Linked DNA regions of Homo sapiens: all the other regions are linked to region 3. Evidence: promoter capture Hi-C in 16 types of primary human blood cells and fetal thymus (Javierre and others, 2016). All regions are on one chromosome and are shown on one strand. Each heading gives the region's core, a stretch centred on a gene start or on the middle of the fragment in contact. The rest is flanking DNA. Distances are from core to core; before and after follow the strand shown.

Evidence for each region. Contacts are between HindIII fragments. The CHiCAGO score rates a contact against its expected background, and 5 or more counts as called.
Region 1: a fragment that was not itself captured here is called in contact with the fragment with the promoter of PLPBP in region 3 in 4 of 17 cell types (naive CD4 T cells, activated CD4 T cells, neutrophils and 1 more); the score reaches 7.8 in naive CD4 T cells.
Region 2: a fragment that was not itself captured here is called in contact with the fragment with the promoter of PLPBP in region 3 in 2 of 17 cell types (endothelial precursors and M1 macrophages); the score reaches 5.9 in endothelial precursors.
Region 4: a fragment that was not itself captured here is called in contact with the fragment with the promoter of PLPBP in region 3 in 1 of 17 cell types (total CD8 T cells); the score reaches 5.8 in total CD8 T cells.

The regions. Positions count from the first base shown.
Region 1 is chr8:38,414,786-38,417,485 of GRCh38, reverse strand. It overlaps FGFR1 (fibroblast growth factor receptor 1), which reads left to right. Exons shown (of 18, transcript NM_023110.3): 12 at 70-180; 13 at 1,426-1,616; 14 at 2,585-2,700. Among named protein-coding and RNA genes, the nearest start is that of LETM2, 30 kb to the right of the region's middle. RefSeq lists enhancers at 232-897, 1,338-2,108. The HindIII fragment of the contact is 8,773 bases long and covers 1-2,700 here.
Region 2 is chr8:36,853,261-36,855,960 of GRCh38, reverse strand. The region is part of intron 18 of KCNU1 (potassium calcium-activated channel subfamily U member 1); the gene reads right to left. Among named protein-coding and RNA genes, the nearest start is that of KCNU1, 70 kb to the right of the region's middle. The HindIII fragment of the contact is 703 bases long and covers 1,027-1,729 here.
Region 3 is chr8:37,761,356-37,764,055 of GRCh38, reverse strand. It overlaps PLPBP (pyridoxal phosphate binding protein), which reads right to left and starts at 1,411. Exons shown (of 8, transcript NM_007198.4): 1 at 1,298-1,411. The coding sequence starts at 1,396. It overlaps LOC124901934 (a long non-coding RNA gene), which reads left to right and starts at 792. Exons shown (of 2, transcript XR_007060889.1): 1 at 792-1,129; 2 at 1,243-2,700. RefSeq lists enhancers at 983-1,042, 1,351-1,645, 1,223-1,682, 1,783-1,862 and a silencer at 1,403-1,723. The HindIII fragment of the contact is 3,991 bases long and covers 1-2,028 here.
Region 4 is chr8:38,367,606-38,370,305 of GRCh38, reverse strand. All of the region lies in intron 1 of NSD3 (nuclear receptor binding SET domain protein 3), which reads left to right. Among named protein-coding and RNA genes, the nearest start is that of NSD3, 13 kb to the left of the region's middle. The HindIII fragment of the contact is 643 bases long and covers 1,009-1,651 here.

The DNA.
Region 1 (2,700 bases), core at 201-2,700, 650 kb before region 3:
CCACTCCCTTAGCCTTTATCCTGCCCTCCTCCCTTCCCAAGTAAATGAGTCTCAACGTGTTCTTTAAAGCGGACGCAACAGAGAAAGACTTGTCAGACCTGATCTCAGAAATGGAGATGATGAAGATGATCGGGAAGCATAAGAATATCATCAACCTGCTGGGGGCCTGCACGCAGGATGGTGGGTGCCGGCCAGACTGGCTTTCCCTGCCCAGCGGGGAGAAGATCTGAGCTGGGGTATCAGTCCCAAGGCCTCTCTCAGCCACAGCTAGGGAAGGGGGTTAAGAGAGGCTGCTTTGGCAGAGGTTTAAAATGTGTTATCTCGGGATCTGGGCTCCGCTCATTGGTGTTCATTCAGGAATACAGATACCTAGATTCACACACGTGGTGTGTTAACAGAGGCAGCTGAGTAATTATGGTCTAAGAGCGCTCAGGCTGGGTGCAGTGGCTCATGCCTGTAATCCCAGCAATTTGGGAGGCCGAGGCAGGAAGATCACTTGAGATCAGGAGTTCGAGACCAGTCTGGTCAAAATGGTGAAACCCCATCTCTACTAAAAAATACAAAAGTTAGCCAGGCATGGTCACGCATGCCTATAATCCCAGCTACTCAGGAGGCTGACGCATAAGACTTGCTTGAACCCGGGAGGTGGAGGTTGCAGTGAGCCAAGATCACGCCATTGTACTCCAGCTTGGGAGATACTCCCGCTGTCTCAAAAATAAAATAAATAAATAGGCCAGGCACAGTGGCTCACGCCTGTAATCCCAGCACCTTGGGAGGGTGAGGCGGGTGGATCACTTGAGGTCAGGAGTTGGAGACCAGCCTGGCCAACAGGTGAAACCCCATCTCTACTAAAAATACAAAAAGTAGCCGGGCGTGGTGGCGCATGCCTGTAATTCCAGCTACTCGGGAGGCTGTGGCAGGAGAATCGTTTGAACACGGGAGGCGGAGGTTGCGGTTAGCCGAGATCGCGCCATTGCACTCCAGCTTGGGCAACGAGCAAAACTCCATCTCAAAAAAAAAAAAAAAAAAAAAAAAAATTAGCCAGGCATTGTTCATGCCTGTAATCCCAGCTGCTTGGGAGGCTGAGGCAGGAGAATCACTTGAATCCAGAAGGCAGAGGTTGCAGTGAGCCGAAATTGCGCCACTGCACTCCAGCCTGGGCAACAGAGTGAGACTCCATCTCAAAATAAACAGACAAACTGGGGCTCTTACCCCAATGTTGCTCGGGAATTTTCTGGACTATGCTGGGAGTAATTATTTCTCTGATTTTTTTTGGGTAGTAGAATGGATTTCCCAGGTCCCCTAAGAGGAGGCAGGAGATGGGAGGTTGGCCGGGGTGTGCTGCTGGGGGTGGGGTTTCTTTGAGGTGAAGCCAAACCTGCTCACCTGCTGCTGGCCCCATGGCCTCTTCTCCTGTGCCTGCAGGTCCCTTGTATGTCATCGTGGAGTATGCCTCCAAGGGCAACCTGCGGGAGTACCTGCAGGCCCGGAGGCCCCCAGGGCTGGAATACTGCTACAACCCCAGCCACAACCCAGAGGAGCAGCTCTCCTCCAAGGACCTGGTGTCCTGCGCCTACCAGGTGGCCCGAGGCATGGAGTATCTGGCCTCCAAGAAGGTGTGGAACCTGAAGGCTCCCCTGGGTAATGCCAGGGTGGGAACAGAGCCCCCCTAGTCTTCCAGCCTGTGACTTATCATCTTGTGGTGGCGTTGTGGATGCACTGAGCACTGGCCCTGTGTGCCCTGTGTGTTGTCTTAGGCTCTCTGGGAACTGCAGAGTCAGGAGCACCAGTGTAGCCAGGTGGCCTTGGGGTCAGACTGATGCAGGGTCCGATCTGTGCACTGCCACTTTCTGCGTAGCCTCAGGCAGCTACTTAGCATCTTAAAATTCTTCAAATACAAAATAATAATAATATCAGCTGGGTGCAGTGGCCAAGGCGGGAGGATTGCTTGAGCTCAGGAGTGTGAGACCAGGTTGGGCAATATATTGAAACCCCGTCTTTAAAAAAAAAAAAAAAATTAAAAAATTAGCTGGGTGTGGTAGTGCGTGCCGATAGTCCCAGCTACTCGGGAGGCTGAGGTGGGAGGCTAGCTTGAGCCCAAGAGTTTGAGGCTGCACTGAGCCATGATCACACCACTGCACCCCAGCCGGGGCGACAGAGCAAGGCCCTGTCTCAAAAGAAAATAAAGTATAACAATACCTGTTGTAGAATTGTTATGAAGATAAAATGAAACTGTCTGTGAGTGTTGAGTGCAGTGTTTGGTGTGTAAGGGCTGGCCTGGTTTGAGCCCAGCCCCATGTGGACTTGCTGTGCTGGGAGGCAGGACCTAGGAGCATGCATCGCTGCAGACGCAGCAGAGGCATAAGGGGCCAGTCTTTGGGGAAGGAAGGGAGGAGCGCTTGCTGTGATGAGAAGCCTGGAGCTGGCAGAGAATGTTAGAAGAGGGAAAGCAAAGGTTCGGGGGGCAGAGCAGTGTGGCAGAAGTTCTATGAGACAAGTCGGCTAGTTGCATGGGTGGCGGCCGCCCAGAGCCTTCCAGCTCCCTCACCTCCCCGCCTCCCGCTCTCCCTTCCTCCTTCCTCAGTGCATACACCGAGACCTGGCAGCCAGGAATGTCCTGGTGACAGAGGACAATGTGATGAAGATAGCAGACTTTGGCCTCGCACGGGACATTCACCACATCGACTACTATAAAAAGAC
Region 2 (2,700 bases), core at 129-2,628, 910 kb after region 3:
ACATCACAAAAAATCTTGAAACCAGCACGAGAAAAATGTGGTTTACATGTGAAACAGCTGACTTCTTATCAGAAAAAATGGAGGTTAGAAGGCAATAAGATGTCATTGAAAAGTGCTGAAATAAACTGCCAACCAAGAATTTTATACCCAGGAAAACTATCTTTAAAAAATGAAGACAAGATACCAGAAAAAAAATAAAATAAAAGGTAGAGGAAGGACACGAGATAGGCCGCCCCTCCATAAAAATAGAATAAACTGGCAAAACTTGTGAGAATTATTTTTTTTTCAGAACTCTGGAAACTAACCAACAGGAGCCTTGAAAACATTTAGTCGAGAGAAATAAATAGATAGCAGTAAGAGATATAAGATTTGTGTTATTTTAATTTACACTAGTTTCATCTCCAGCTCCACAGCTCATCGATAGCTTTCAAAACATAATACTCCATATTCTTGGCACTAGAGGGAGTACAGCAGAAATACAGTTCTTCAAAAGCCTTATTTCCAAAGAAGAGTCATTATTTTGACTTGTCTGGTGGTTCCCTGCATAACCCTACTTGAATGGCTTTTCTTTTTCAGCCTCATTTGCATGTATCTAGTGCTACAAGCCTATCCCCAGGGAGTGTTATCAAATATATTAACGTCACATGTGCCTGAGGCAACAGATAGCAGGGCAAATTGAAGACCAAATGAAAGCATAAAAGGAAAACTGAAGAATAAAATGTCTTCTTACTTATAAGGGACTTTGAAAAACTCTGGAATATTACTGGAAATCTAAATGACAATGAAGATGCCCAGAACTGTGTAAAGCTGTATGCATAAGCAGAAAGGCCTGAGAAGTTCCAAAGCTCTCATCTCTAACTGACCTTGAGGTTTCATACAAGCAGAAAATGAAGGCTAAACACAGTTGTCAACTTTACAGCTGACTATTGAAGGCATGCCCCAACACAAACACAGAATCCTTTGACAAAGACTGAGAAACTTCTTGGTTCCAGGTGTTTAACAAAAATCATTGTCCAATTATAAGCTTACCACTAAGTTGAGTAGAAAATTCAATGGCCACAAATGACAGAGAGATAGACTTTGGGAAAGTCTACTGGAGAATCTGATTTCCATAAATAACACACTATAACCTGTGTAATGTCTAATTTTCAACAAAAAGTTATAAGACTTGGAAAGAAACAAGCAAGATAAAAATACATAGGAAAAAGGCTCTCAATAGACACCATCCTTGAGAGAAGCTCAGATATTGTACTTACTAGTCAAAGACTTTTAAAATCAGCTAATTTAAATATATTTGAAGAGCTTTAAAAACCTATATATAAATAACCAAAAGGAATATGAGAATGATGTCTCACAAAATAGAGAATGTCATTAAATAGTTACAAATTTTTTTAAGTAGAAATCTTGGAGTTCAAAGTACAAGAACTAAAATAAAAACTTTACAAGAGGAACTAAAGATCAGACTTGAGCATGCAAAAAAAAAAAAAAGAATCAGCATACTCAAAGATAGGTGAATGAAGATTATACAGTTTGAGGGACAGAAGAAAAAAGGAATTAAGAAAAATGAAGACAGCCTAAGGGACCGCTGGGACATTATCAAGTGTACCAAAGGATTTAATGAAAGATCCAGGAGAAGAGTAAAGAAAGGAGTAGAGTGAATATTTGAGAAATAATGGCCAATAACTTCTCAAAGTGGTTGAAAAACATTAATCTACACAACTAAAAAGCTTAATAAACTCCTAGTAGGATAAATTTAAAGAGATTGACACATGGAGACCTGTCATAATCAAAAATGTAAGACTCAAAGACAGAGGGTCTTCAAGTCAGCAAGACAGAAGTGACTCATCGTGTAGAAAGGATGACCAATCAAATTGAAAGCTATTTCTAATCTGAAACAATAGAGGCCAGAAAGAAGTAGGATGAAATATTTAAAGCGCTGAATGAGAAACAACTGCCAACAAAGAATTTAATAGTTAGCAAAACTATCCTCCAAAAATAAATGATAAATTAAGACATTTTTAAGATTAACAAGAACTTAGATCTTGTTCACATATGACAAACCCTACAATAAATACTAACGGGATTCCTTGAGTTTGAAATACAAGCACATTAGGCAGTAATTCAAATCCACAGGAAGAAATAAAAATCACACACACACACACCAACCTATACTTAACCGACCCTATAAACCAACTATACTTAACAGACATCCATATAACATTCCATCTAACAACAGAATAATACATGATCTTCCCAAGTATACATTGAATAGTCTCCAGGATAGACCATGTATTAGACAATGGAGCAAGTCTTAAAATACTATAAGAATTTGTCATACAAAGTATGCTTTCCAACTTCAATGGAATTAAATAAGAATACAATAAAAGAGAAAATTAGGAAAATTCACAAATATGTGAAAGTAAAAACAACACATTTCTTAACAATGGGTCAAAAACATACAAAAAAGAAAACAGAAAACACAGGGAAATTATAAAGTATTTTAAATTAATGAAAATAAAAACATAACACATTAAAAATACACCATGCTTCTAAAGGTGCTTAGAGGGAAATTTTTAGATATAAATGCCTACTTATTTATTTATTTATTTTTTGAGAGAAGTCTTGCTCTGTCAACCAGCTTGGAATGCAGTAGCATGATCTTGGCTCACTGCAGCCTCTGTCTCCCAGGTTCAAGTGACT
Region 3 (2,700 bases), core at 162-2,661:
TGGCAGAACTAAGGCTGCGACACAAAAAATTCTGGATTCAGGATCAGACCTATGTGACATCCTCTCACGACCACTATACAAAGAGCGGGGGTTCTATGCGTTCTGCTGCCACCCAATCCACATAGAAACAGTAAGAGAAGAGATTCGTTTATCCTTGCACGATTTAGTCTTCTTGTATCCATCATCCCCTGAAGTTTTCACAGAATCACAGTGTTCTCAAGGACGTGACGGAGTCAGATCAATTAGAAAAATGTCTCCTCTTCCTTCCTTCCACAGCGATGCGTAACCAGCCTCGTTTGAGTCCAAGTCGTGACTACTGGGAGTATGCTGATGATTGACGCTTTCCAGAGAGTTACCCGAACAGGCAGCCCATCTGCCTGAGAGTTTCCCTGAGAGAACCTCCAAGGTGATGTTTATTAGGGGAAGCCCTAGATTTTTCTTGGAGAATCACCGAGAATCACAGAATATTAACATCAGAAGAGATCTCAGAGCTTTCAGAGCTGAGGGCCGGAATAGTTACCTGACTTGTTCAAGGTAACGTCTAAGGAATAGTCAAAGAAAGACTATAATACAGGTCTTGTCTTCAGCCAGCATAAATGCTCGATCAGAGAAACCTGTGACCTCTCTGTTAAGGTCCGTCTCATTCCACACCATTCAGCTTAAACTTGCACTGAGGTGGGCAGATTTTGATTCTTGGTCTAATCAAAGTCCAAGAGGATGTAATATATATATACACAAAAGACGAAAGCTCCCCTTAACCGGCTTGGGATTGGACTTCTCCCTCCTGCCCCATAAACAAGTGCCGCTCTGATGCCAGCGAAGTCCGGCCAGTCCACCCTCACCTCGGCCTCCGGGCGGCACTGGCATTTCTTGGGCACTTAGCAGGTGAGACGCTGCCACACACGCGATCTCGGGCGTCTCTGGCCTCCGCGGGGTGCTCTTGTACCCCCGTCTCCCCTTACCATCCGTGGGCACAGGCCTGGCCCCCCTCGCATCCGCCAAGGCTATCGACCCCGAAACGACGCGGTGCGCAAGTGGCCACGACACCTAGGCACTAAGTCATTTTCCCGAGGTAGCGGTACCCTCTGCTCCAACGAAGCCAATCTCCAGAAAACCTAACAGACTCAAGGTAAGGAGGCTGGGGAAACCCTTCGCTAGCCTTTCGGTGGCCCTAGGCGGCCGACCAGTCCCGCCTCTCTGGGAGACCCCTCTGCGTCACCGTGACGACCCATTCCCACGCAGGTGTCCCTCTTCTCAAGGCGGCCGCCCACCGTCCCCACGCAGCCTCCTTCCTCACCCGCGGCCGCCGCGCCACAGCCTGCTGCACGCGCTCGTTCACCGCCCGCAATGCGCACCCGACTCCCAGCTCGGCCGACATGCTGCCAGCTCTCCACATCCCCCGGGGACCGACGCCGAGCCCCAGGCCCCCGGCAGCCCGTGGCTCACACCATCTTCCGGTTCCGCCCAGCTTGCGCCGTGTGAACCAATCATTGCTCATCATTGAGTCGTCTCACCCAATCAACACCCGTGCAGCGTGGAGGCCCGCCCCCAGGCGGCGGCCATCTTGGGGAGGTCACCCGCGAACCTGGAAATGGAGCCTAGGGGCTGAGGTTTTGCGCGCCTGGTTCCAAGGGCCACTCCCCGTGTGCTCTCCTCTTTCCTGCGCCTCAGCCGCTGCCGTCCCCCCACCCCCAAGGGACTTTTGTGAGGCAGAAACGCATCCTATACTCGGGGGATCCTGTTTCCTTTCAAAACGCCTTTCCAGGCTTGCCCGTTCCCGGCTTTCTGGGCGCGGGGACCAGAATTAGAAGCCACTGGGGCGGGAGCCAGGGCTTTTCTCTGTCAGATGGTTCTTGCGAGGAACCCCTAAGCGATACGAAAGGAAACTCTTCTTTCTTCTTTTCCCTAAAGACATGGCGTGATTCAAACGTATCGTGATTTTTGTCATCTTTCAGACCACTGCTGTCCAAGAGAAATATAACGCCATCCAACTGTGTAATTTGGAAGTTTCTCATAGGCACATAAGCTTAAAAATTTTAATGATATACTTTATTTAATCCAATATATCCAAAGTAAGATTTCAACATGCAATCAATAGAAAAACTAAATGCGATATTTTAATTCTTTTGAAAATCGTATGTGTTTCTGAAACCCGGTGTAGTGTTGACTTGCATATGTCTCAATTCGGGCCATCCCTATTTCGAGAGGTTAGCGGCCACCTGCGGCCAGTGCTGTCTCATCAGGGGACACAGGCAGCATGATTATTACTATTATTATTATTGAGACAGTCTCGCTCTGTCACCCAGGCTGGAGTGCGGTGGCCCGATCTGGGCTCACTGCAACCTCCACCTCCCGGGTTCAAGCGATTCTCCTGCCTCAGCCTCCCCAGTAGCTGGGACTACAGGTGCGAGCCACCGCGCCCAGCCCACAGGCAGCTTTAGATGGTCTAGCAGGAGCTCAGCACATTCAGTTAGATTCTTTTTTTGAGATGGGGTCTCGCTATGTTGCCCAGATTATCTGGGACTCGTGGGCCCAAGCAATCCTCCCACCTCCGCCTCACAGAATAGCTGGGACTACAAACGGGCACCACAACGCCCTGAGTTTGATTCTTGAGTCCCCTTCTGTGGGCAATATGGTTATAAACTTGATGAGGAGCCAGGCCATACAAATAATAATACAGAATGCTACATAGTCAGGTGG
Region 4 (2,700 bases), core at 81-2,580, 610 kb before region 3:
TTGATTTAGAAACACTTTATTTTAGAAAACATCTGTGGAAAGTATGTTTTACCTATACAGTTAACTGTAGCAAACTTATCACCTTATAGAAAATATGGTTTTCTTTTAAGAGAGGTTTGCTTTGTTCTAATTGACCTTCCCCCCGAAAGTTGTTCTTTTGTTATGTTCGCTTAAGCCGTTTAACAAAACATTTTTTAAAAACTGGGTGGGCTGGCTGGGCGTGGTGGCTCACACCTGTAATCCCAGCACTTTGGGAGGCCGAGGTGGGTGGATCACTTGAGGTCAGGAGTTTGAGACCAGCCTGGTCAACATGGTGAAACCCCATGTCTACTAAAAATACAAAAATTAGCCAGTGTTGTGGTGCACGCGTGTAGTCCCAGCTACTCAGGAGGCTGAGGCAGGAGAGTCGCTTGAACCCAGAAGGCAGAGGTTGCAGTGAGCTGAGATCGTGCCACTGCACTCCAGCCTGGGCAACAGAGCGAGACTCTGTCTCAAAAACAAAAACAAAAACAAAAACAAAAAACAAAACTGGGAGGGCAGTGAAGTATAGGGCAAGAGTCAAGGAGATCTGAGTTCCTATCCCCACTTCACTTTACCACTGAAGATCAGTGTTCTTATCTCTAAAAGTGCAAATGAAAATTATTCTTGGAGTTACAGGGATTCAAATTAGAAGTACTAGAGTGTGCGTAGAACTGTACCAGACACATAGTTGATAATGAATAACTTTTTTAATAGAAGAAAAATAGTGTACACAAAATGAACTAGTCTTTAGTCACATGTTTAATGGAAGAAGAACTGAACTCAATTGGCTAAACTCACTTTCATAGAAGTTAAAAGTTGAACATCAACTAATACCTGAAGAGAATCTTTGCCTAGGTTATATGAGTTTTTCTTAATTGTTGAGAGAATTCATGCTGGTTCAAGTTTGAACATGAAGTTAACTTTCCAGTCCAATTTTACTTCCACTGTTTTATTACAACTCATGATGGCTAAAGCTTCACTAAAGCTTGGTGTTCTGATTAAACAAACAGGTGATGTGAAATTTGGATATATAGTATGAAATTCTGAATTTTCTAACTTTTATTACTTATTTTGAAAACTACATGTTGAATACTAAAATACTACATGTTGAACCTAAAATACTAAAGCGATAAACAAAAAAAACAAAACCCAAACTGGTCTTTATAGAAAAGATAAACTTAGTAAATTATTATTTAGATATAATAAATTGCTTAGTGCCTTAAAAACTACATATCATCTTTGGCATACATTCTCTTTTGCCTTTTTTGGGGGAATGGAGGATACAAGCTAAAAGAAAGTAAATTTGAATGCTTGCAAAATTTTAAGAACCAATCTCAAACCATTTTACCATAATTTAAAAGTTTGTCCAGGAAATAGGTAAGAAAATATGTGGATGAACTTGTTAGTTTACTAGATTTCATAGTGAATGGAACAAGATGACTGATGAAAGTTGTTTGTAGTAATTTTCATTGTGAGCAACTACCCTTGCTGTAAAGGATTGGAAAATAATGTAATTTCCTTCAAGTGGTAATACCATGTCTGTTGTTGCTGGGTGTGGTCAGCAACAAAGCGAAGACAGTTGAGGTTAAACTAGATAGATAAGGGAAACAGGGTGTTTTACTAGTAAGCTTTGTATTGGTAAAAGGCAGTTCAATAGTAATGTGGTTTAGTCAGGAAAAAAATATGAACTACAAAGCCACCTAAAATGTTGTATAACTTAATGGAATCATAGTCAAGTGAAAACTGTATGATTGAATTTAGTGACAGGATTTATGGTTAAATGAAACACTTTTTTGTTGTTGTTGTTTTCTTTTTTGTATTTTGTTAACTAAGTTCTACTTCACGCAGGTTACTTCCTAATTCAGGATATTTTAATGTCTTTAATCATCATCCTTCTCTAAACATCTTTCTCTAAATTTTTAGTGGAAAATTTAAAGTGAACACATTTCAGAAAATATTTGAGGTGACAACGCTAAAGTTAAACAGATTATGGAGTAGCACAGTTATTCTTTACAGATAATTTGCTGCCTGGTGCAGTGGCTCACACCTGTAATCCCAACACTTTGGGAGGCCAAGGCGAGTGGATCACCTGAGGTCAGGAGTTCGAGACCGGCCTGACTAACATGGTGTAACCCCCTTTAGCTGGGTGTGATGGTGCATGCCTGTAATCCCAGCTACTTGGGAAGCTGAGGCAGGAGAATCACTTGAACCCTGGAGGCAGAGGTTGCAGTGAGCCGAGATTGTGCCAGGGCACTCCAACCTGGGCAACAAGAGCAAATCTCTGTCTCAAAAAAAAAAGATATTTTGCTTTATTAATAGTTTAAACTCAGAAAAGTTTAAAAAAAGTTAAGAGAAAACATACAACTTCTCTAACACACCTTGATTCCTTACTAGGATTTTGTAAAGAGAATCGTGGCCATGCTGATTTTACTCCCTAAAATCCTATCTATGTCACTAACTGTATTGGTTGTGAATTTCATATAATTGTTTGATATTACAAATAATGGTCATCTTAAATAATGTTAAGGTGATAGATGAGATTTAAAGTTAGTTTTTTATTTATTTATTTTTTTGAGACAGAGTCTCACTCTGTCACCCAGGCTGGAGTGCAGTGGCACAATCTCAGCTCACCGCAACCTCCACCTCCCGGGTTCAAGTGATTCTCCTGCCTCAGCCTCC